Regions from separate parts of the Homo sapiens genome. Here region 1 is linked to region 2. The links are contacts of gene promoters, found by promoter capture Hi-C in blood cells and fetal thymus (Javierre and others, 2016). All regions are on one chromosome and are shown on one strand. The core of a region is centred on a gene start or on the middle of the fragment in contact, and the rest is flanking DNA. Distances in the headings are between cores, read along the strand shown. Region 1 overlaps INTS3 (integrator complex subunit 3). Region 2 holds the start of GATAD2B (GATA zinc finger domain containing 2B).

Region 1 (4,462 bases), core at 853-3,352, 160 kb after region 2:
TTTTGCCATGTTGGCCAGGCAGGTCTCAAATTCCTAACCTCAGGTGATCTGCCCACCTTGGCCTCCCAAAGTGCTGGGATTACAGGCATGAGCCACTGTGTCTGGCCAGAGCTTCTCATTTCTAACTCAACATGGAGTTGAGATAGGTCTAAGCACAATCAGTCTAACTGGACCATACTCAGATCCCTGAAGGGGGTCAACAGGGAACATGAAGGCATTTGAAGACCTTTGTAATACGATGGCAGGAGAGAAATTCCTCTAAGAGCCAAGAAGACATATGCCCAGCAGTCTGAGGTAGAGCCAATACTTTTTACACCTGTCAGAGAAAAGGGCCAGCAGTGCTATGGCAACATTTGGATACACCTGGACCTAATGAAAAATGGGAAAACAACCTCCTTCCCCCACCAAATTCCTTACGCCAAGACCCGTTTCTCCACAATGTGGTTGAGGGAGGAAAAGACACCCTGCCGCACGTGGCCCTCCAATGGTGGATAGAAGTTGGGAATGATCTGGAAGCGAAGAAGGAGGGGAAAAATGAGCACAGGACTCCATCCAGAGGCTTCCGCTGAATTAGATCTGAAAAGCTGCTTTGGTTTTGATCAGGGGACACTGGGGAGTATGGCTGCAGAGAGAACTGGACTTCCTGACCACTCCAGGCCACTCAAATGAGAAATTCTTACTGGACCTGGCTGCTCCCCAAGGAAACCAGATTCTACCTTGAGTCACCATCCTTGTGATTGAGAAACCCCACAGAAAATGGGAAGATCCAAGTGCAGACAGTGGAATATGGAAGGGAAGCATTTATTAACTTGGGGGATAGGACCCATGACCATTTCTGCTCTCAGTCAAGGCATACCGAGAAGACCCGTTCACTGGGAGATTAGGGGAGATACACTGAATTCTGCTCATCCAGGCATGGGGAGAAAAGAGAGCTCTAACACTTACGCGGCACATGAAGTCCAGGAGTGTGGCAGTGATGGCTGGGTGGGGCTTCATGGAGTGGTGCATGACCAGGATGGCTGGTTCTGGAGGATGTGAAATTAAAGAGCCCCTCACATCAGTCAGTCTCTCTCTCTCTTTTTTTTTTTTTTTTTTTTTTTTTTGAAACAGAGTCTTGCTCTGTCACCCAGGCTGGAGTGCAAATGGTACGATCTCAGCTCACTGAAGCCTCTGCCTCCCAGGTTCAAGCGAATCTCATGCCTCAACCTCCCCAGCAGCTGGAATTACAGGTGTGCGCCACCACGCCAGGCTAAAGTCAGTCTGTTTCTATCTCCATAAAATGGGATGTCAATATACATGAATGGCTCTGGGAAGTGCTATGTCTATTCCCCCCATTTCCACTGAGCAGACCCAAGAGCAGACAGGCCCCGAAACAGCTTGTAGCCCTCATTTCCCTTCTTGTTCCCAGCATTCAGCTTTGAGAAGGGAAGTAATAGGTGAGGAGAAGCAGGACATGGTACAGCCTTTTCCTTTGCCCATGCCCTCCCCTCCTGAAGACCATGCATCCTGAAGACTGTGGGGAGGAGGTACAGTGATGGCTTAGCCTTATCAAAGCAATTCTCTTTCTAGGTCAAGGGAAAACTGATGAGGAACAACAGAGCTGCTCCCAGATAAACTGCCTCCACTCCACGGTGCCCTGAGATTTATGACTGCTATCACTAAGGAAGGCAGTGGGGGCTTAGGGGGATGGGGAAGTGGAGCCGCCTGGTCTTGGTCACATACCTATGTTCATAATGCTATCCTTGTCTGGACTAAAGAACAGCCAGTCATAAAACAAAGCCAGCTTGGCATTGGAGGCAGCGACATTTGACTGGAAAAGAGAGGGGAGAAACAGAGGGCTAGTTTCATCAATCACCCCCCTCCATTTCAGAGTCCCAAGACAGATTCCAGGCCCCACTTGGCTGTTTCATCTATGAAATTCAGTTCCTAGTGAAACACGGTGAAATGCTAACCCCCCTTGTGTTGTGTATGAGTGAATACTCTGTGGTCTTATGGTCTTAACCAAGAGGACAGAGGACAGGGATTGGGCCAGGTACCCCCCGAACCTTTTTTTTTTTTTTTCCAGACAGGGTCTTGCTCTGTTGCCCAGGCTGTAGTGCAGTGGCATGATCTCAGCTCACTGCAACCTCCACCGCCCAGGCTCGAGAGAGCCTCTCACCTCAGCCTGGGACTACAGGCACGCACCACCTCACCTGGCTCATTTTTCTATTTTTTTGTAGAGATGAGGGTCTTGCCATGTCACCCAGGCTGGAGCGCAGTGGCATGATCACGGCTTACTCCAGCCTTGACCTCTTAGGCTCGGGTGATCCTCCCAGCCTCAGCCTCCTTGGTAGCTGGGACTACAGGAGCACACCACCATGCGTGGCTTTATGTTTTGTTTTGTTTTGTTTTGGTAGAGATGGGTTTTGCCATGTTGCCCAGGCTGGTCTTGAACTCCTGGGCTCAAGTGATCCTCCCACCTCAGCCTCCCAAAGTATTGGGATTATAGGTGAGAGCCACCATGCCTGGCCAGGCCTGGGTTCTTTTCTTTTTGTTGTTGAGACAGGGTCTGACTCTGTCACCCAGGCTGGAGTGCAGTGGCAGGATCTCAGCTCACTGCAACCTCTACCTCCCAGGCTCAAGCGGTCCTCTCACCTCAGCCTGGGACTACAGCCGCACACCAACACACTTGGCTAATTTTTGTATTTTTTTGTAGAGATGGGGTCTTGCCATGTTGCCCAGGCTGGTCTCAAACTCCTGAGCTCAAGCAATCTGCCCACCTCAACCTCCCAAAGTGCTGGGATTACAGGCGTGAGCCACCGTGCTCGGCAGGCCTGGGTTCTTGATACATCCAGCAGTTCATATCTCTGATTCCCATAGGGGACAATGCTTGGACTCAGAAGTCCACTCATCACCCCTGAGCTGAGGCAACAGTCAGACTAGCACCCCTTGGCTGCCCTTTCTGGGCTCTCCAGGCACATTCCTGAAGAAGAGACCCCCACCCCTCCAGGAATAGCCTGTTGTCATATCTGAATCAGCACATTCCAAGGACCCAGTCAAATGGGGGAGGAGGAACCCTGTTGGAAGAGGTCAGGGGGCAGCCAGATGCCAGAGAATGGATAGTTTCCCACCCTAGGCACAGAGAGGAAAACATTTGAAAGGAAATGCCTCCACTGCAGATTCGCTGCATTTACAGAAGGGAAGTAGACAAAGCTGATGCCAAAAAGGCATGGTGGTGAGGGTCTAAAGAATGCAAGCTCTGAATCTGAGAAAGAAACAGTTAAGAGGAATAGCTGTATATGGTTTCTGGAAGCAAAAATGAAAAAGGCAGGGACGCTCCAGAAACCCAGGCTTTTGGGGGTTGGCAGTAATGGGGGAGATGAACCTGTTCAATCTCAAACCCAGATGGAAAATAATGAGTGTAAGTAAATTTCTAGAGACACAAAGGGAAGTGAAGGCTGAGACACTCTGGAAGACCAGAGTGAAAGAAGGGCCCTTAGGGGTCAAGTGGCCCTGGAGTCAGGAAGAAGAATGGAAACATGGGAACACCATGGAAGAGGCACCCTTCACCACCCAGTATCTTTTGCCCTCACCGTGCACGTTGTCAGGAGCCAACCAATGATGGCCCACCGGGGCAAGATATCTGAACTCAGTACTTCATTAGAAGGGTGGACTACCCCACAGATGTAGCGAATGAGGTCACAGCGCAGAGACTGACTATCTGGAGTTGACAGGTACTGGCGCTGGAACCAATCTTGGTATCGCTTTTGTTGACCAAATCGCACCTGGGGAAAGGGGAAGCAAGAAAAAGACCTTAGAAGACAGTGTGGGGTCCTTGGCCAGAGGAAAACGAGCACCACTTAACTCTAGGTTTGCCCTAGACCTCTATTTCTCCACAATTCATTCATTAGCTCATACTGTCTCGTAAGTCTCCCCTCCTTTAGGAGAACTTCTTGATTAAAAAAAAAATGCTGAAAATTTCTAGCTTGCCCTGCATTCTGATGTTACAGTCATTCTTGCCACTGACCTCAGGCTACATTTACCCCCAACTGCAACTTCAGTCCAGTTTTTGGCTCTTTACTCCTTGCACTGGTCACTGACTCTCCAGTCAGAAGTATAACCTTTTCTCATTTTCTTGAGCCACTGGTGAACAGCAAGAAATGTTCTTCAAGAGTAAGAGCTGGGTCTGTTCACCACTCAACATCAACTGAGAATTTCCTGGTGCTGACCTAGCAGGACCATTATCCAAAGCCTAGACTCTCCAAACCTTCTTGTGGAAAGTTTTTCCTCAAACAGACCCTAAGTGATCACAAATAGTAACACTAAATAAGGAAAAGGATCTGGTTTCCCTCTTCTTATATTCCCCCAACTGTCAGAAGAAATCAACCAAGATAAAGCAAAAAGGTAAAAAAACAAACAAAAAGATACTTCCAGACCAACACCATCCAACAGAACTTTCGGCAATGATGGTTGCTATTATGCA
Region 2 (4,012 bases), core at 1,136-3,635:
AAAAAAAAAAAGTTGAATGCTGCTTGCAGTGATGTACACCTGTAGTCCCAGCTATTTGGGAGGCTGAAGTGGGAGGATCTCTTTTTTTTTTTTTTTTTTGAGACAGAGTCTCGCTCTGTCGCCCAGGCTGGAATGCAGTGGCAAGATCTTGGCTCACTGCAAACTCCACCTCCCGGGTTCACGCCATTCTCCTGCCTCAGCCTCCCGAGTAGCTGGGACTACAGGCGCCCGCCACCACGACCGGCTACTTTTTTGTATTTTTAGTAGAGACGGGGTTTCACTGTGTTAGCCAGGATGGTCTCGATCTCCTGACCTCGTGATCTACCTGCCTCGGCCTCCCGAAGTGCTGGGATTACAGGCCTGAGCCACCGCGCCCGGCCGGGAGGATCTCTTGAGCCCAGGAGTTTCAGAGCAGCCTGGGTAACATAGCAAGACCTCATCGCTAATTTAAAAAATAAATAAAGTGGGGGCTGCGGTGGGCGCGGTTGTTCACGCCTGTAATCCCACCACTTTGGGACGCCAAGGCGGGTGGATCACTTGAGGCCAGGAATTTATGAGACCAGCCTGGGAAACATAGTGAAACCCTGTCTTTACCAAAAATACAAAAATCAGCCGGGCGTGGTCACGTGCGCCTGTAATGCCAGCTACTTGGGAGGCTGAGGTGGAAAGATGGCTTGAGCCTGGGTGGTGGAGATTGCAGGCAGCTGAGATCACGCCACTGCACTCCAGCCTGGGCGACAGAGGGAGACTGTCTCAAAGAAAAAAAAGAAAAAAAAAATGGGTGCGTCTGTGTTTGTGTAGGATCTACCTACGGCTTTAAGTTGCCATGTCCTCCATTATAATTTCATTTCCATTGCACAGCATGACTTTTAAATAATTTAAAAAACATGTTCAAATACCTGTGGAGGCTGGCGTGGTGGCTCACACACCTGTAATCCCAGCACTTTGGGAGGCTGAGGCAGGAGGATCACCTGAGGTCAGGAGTTCGAGACCAGCCTGGCCAACATGGCGAAACCCCGTCTCTACTAAAAACACAAAAATTAGCCGCGCGCCTGTAATCCCAGCTACTCGGGAGGCTGTTGAGGCAGGAGGATCGTTTGAACCTGGGAGGCGGAGGTTGCAGGAACTGAGATTGTACCACTGCACTCCAGCCTGGGAGACACAGTGAGAAAACAACAATAACAAAATGCCTGTGGAACCAGTTGTTTCTGGGTTTAAACCACTGCTTAGTCACTAACTAGCGGTCTGACCTTTGGCAAGTTACTTAACCTCTCTGAGCCTTAGTTTCCTCATCTACTTGGGTTCAAATTTCAGCTCTACCACTTAACGTGTAACTGGACAAATTTTTTGATCCTAATTTTCCTCATTTGTAAAGTAGGGATAACAGTACCTACCTCACAGTCATGAGGAATAAATACTTCATGTAAAGTTCTTAGCACAGAGCCTGACACAGTCTCTTTCCAAAAACGTTAACTACTATCATAACCTTAACACCCGGACTCTGTTACTTGGTCCCTATCCTCAAGGTGCTCCAGAAACGCTCGCTGAGTTTAGGCGGGCCTAACTGCTCCGTGGAAGCAGGGAGGCCAGCAAAAGGAGCTGGCCCTTGAGTTAATTAGGTGGAATCGGGCGGGGTGGGAGGCTGTTTCCTCGCTGAGAACCTAACCAGACCAGGAGTTCCCAAGAGAAGGAGCTGCGAGGGCTCTGCACACCGTAATTCCTCAGCAACTTGGCTAGCTGCTTTTTTTTTTTTCCTGCTGTCGTGGTTTAGTCACGACAGGACCAAGCGGAGGTACGATGAACACCAGGAAGCTCAAAGCCTTTGGCAGACGGAGACAGGCCACACCCCAAAAAGACGGCAAGGCTCAAGCGCCTAAAGCTAGTTCTATCGTGAAATTTCCTAGAGTCTGTCGCGACGAAACACCGCCCACCGCAGACCCCATCGCCGTTCGCCAGTCTCCATCTTTAGAATTGAAAGAATGAGAGATGGCCAAAGGGGAATCCCGGTTTGGAGAGACTGGGGTACGGCGGCTGCCTGGGGACCAAAACGTCTCTAAGGTAAAGTTGCAGCCTGAAGCGATTTTTTGACCCCCGACACTTAATGGGCTGTCGAAGACCCGGATGTGTCTGGGACTGGCAGAGGTACCCATTAACGCGCCCCCGCTAGACCATCCCCCCTCCTCCGTTTATGATTGGGTTTTAAGCACGCCAATCATCACTTCTCCGGCCACTCATTCTTCAAGGGTGGGGTGAAGTCCCGGCATCTAGTCTTCTACTGGCATGGCCGAGAAGATGAGGGCGGGGTGGCCGGCTTAGGTCGCCCAATGGGCGTCGTGGCGTGTGGGTAAGGCGGAGCCGAGGCGCTTGGCAGCTGCCCAATCAGCGTCCTTGTTTGTGTGGTGCCGCCGCCGCCGGTGCAGCCGTCGCCGCCGCCGCTGCCCCCGTCTGTACCGCAGTGTCTGCTCCGCCCGCCCGCCCCGGTCCGGCCCGCCCCCCTCCCCTACCCCCGTCCCTAGTCCCGTCAGCAGGGTCTGGATCCCCTGTGCCGTCGCCTCTTCCTTTTTCGACGCCTCCGCCGCCGCCTGAGGAGGCGAGCTAGCCGGGAGTTACACCGCCACCGCCAGGTGAGGAGCTTTGGCCTAGGCCAGCCTGGCCGCCCGCCCGCCCGGGGGCGGTGAGGAGCGAGGAAGGGAAGGAGGCTGGGAGGAGGCAGTGGTGGCGGAGGTGGGGGAAGGGAAAGGTGGAGGGGCGGGGGGAGGGGAAGCGCCCGCGAGCCGACGCCCGCCCGCGCGCCCCCGCCTTGCGTCCCCCTCCCCCCACCCCGGCACGGCGCGCCCCCGCCTCGCGCTCCTTCTTCACCTCATCCTCTCCCCCCTTGGCGCGCGCGACCCGGTCTTTCACTTCGGCCTCGCGCGCCCCCAGCTCGTGTCCCTTCATTTCGTCTCCTTGTACTCTTTCTCCCCTCCCTCACGCCCCGTTTCCCCCGCCATCCCCGCTTTCACTCCCTGCCTCATGCCCGCCATGCTCCCCTCCTTTCCTCTCTAGCGCGCCCCCCCCTTTTTTTTTTTAACTCTCTCCACCCCCAGTGGTGCCCTCAGGGTGCGGGGGCCGCTCCCTGCTCAGTCTTGTGTTTGCGGGCGGATGGGACGAATGGGGAATCTAAGGGTAAAGGAAGCACCAGATAATTATCTTTATTTAGGGAAAGGGATCAGGAGCGCATAACCTTACCCCTTTATTTCGTCGTCCACCGTTCGCTCGCCCTCCCGTAGGGGAAGAGAATTGTCTCAGGCTATGTGGGCACTTAGCTTCTACAGCGACTGGGCTTGTGGGACACACTGGATCTGTCTTCCAGTTCAGTTCCTGAGGGTCGGTGGAACTTACCCTTCCCTAACCACACCGGGACTTAGAGTACTTTTGGCCTCCCTGCTCTCAATTACATTGAGGAGCGAGCCACTCATGCGAGTGCAGAGGTTCAGGTGCCATTCGCGCGCCCGGTACAGCTTTCCCGTTTCATAAAGGTATGGTAGCCTCTTTGGATTCTTCCCCAGCATCAACTTCCAAACACAAGATGTTAGCTCATAGGGCTGGCAGTGAGGTGGAGATGGAGGCTTGGTGGTGGGTGGCATGTGGATGCTAACTGAGCTAGCTAGCAACCTTTTCTCTGTTGTCCCCTGGAAAATCAGGTAGCCTCCTGAGAACCAGTTTTCTCATTTCTGATAAATGCTTATTTGGGGGGCGTGTGTGTGTGCGTGTGTGTGTGTGTAAGAGAGAGAGAGAGATGGGGGGATACTTAATACATTTCAGCAGAGGCGAAGGATACTTAATATATTTCAGCAAAGGGCAAGAGCAGTGTTTTCAGGCCAGACTGCAAAAGAGGGATTTGGATTTGTAGCTGATGGAATTAAAACAGGTTTAACAGATCTGTGTTGGAGAAGAGCTGATGCTTTTGTAGTTTTTAGGACATTTTTTCTAAAAATTTATATTTTGAGTAGAAAAGCATGCATGTGGTTGT

What was found. Contacts are between HindIII fragments. The CHiCAGO score rates a contact against its expected background, and 5 or more counts as called.
Region 1: a contact is called between a fragment that was not itself captured here and the fragment with the promoter of GATAD2B in region 2, in 5 of 17 cell types (total B cells, M1 macrophages, M2 macrophages and 2 more). The highest score is 7.7, in total B cells.

Annotation. Positions count from the first base shown.
Region 1 is chr1:153,756,874-153,761,335 of GRCh38, reverse strand. INTS3 (integrator complex subunit 3) reads right to left here. Exons shown (of 30, transcript NM_023015.5): 10 at 3,573-3,764; 11 at 1,723-1,810; 12 at 946-1,025; 13 at 418-509. Among named protein-coding and RNA genes, the nearest start is that of SLC27A3, 16 kb to the left of the region's middle. The HindIII fragment of the contact is 8,511 bases long and covers 1-4,462 here.
Region 2 is chr1:153,921,345-153,925,356 of GRCh38, reverse strand. It overlaps GATAD2B (GATA zinc finger domain containing 2B), which reads left to right and starts at 2,385. Exons shown (of 11, transcript NM_020699.4): 1 at 2,385-2,624. It overlaps LOC101928059 (a long non-coding RNA gene), which reads right to left and starts at 1,984. Exons shown (of 4, transcript XR_922160.3): 1 at 1,395-1,984. RefSeq lists silencers at 78-251, 1,310-1,604, 2,282-2,601 and an enhancer at 1,912-2,151. The HindIII fragment of the contact is 8,959 bases long and covers 1-4,012 here.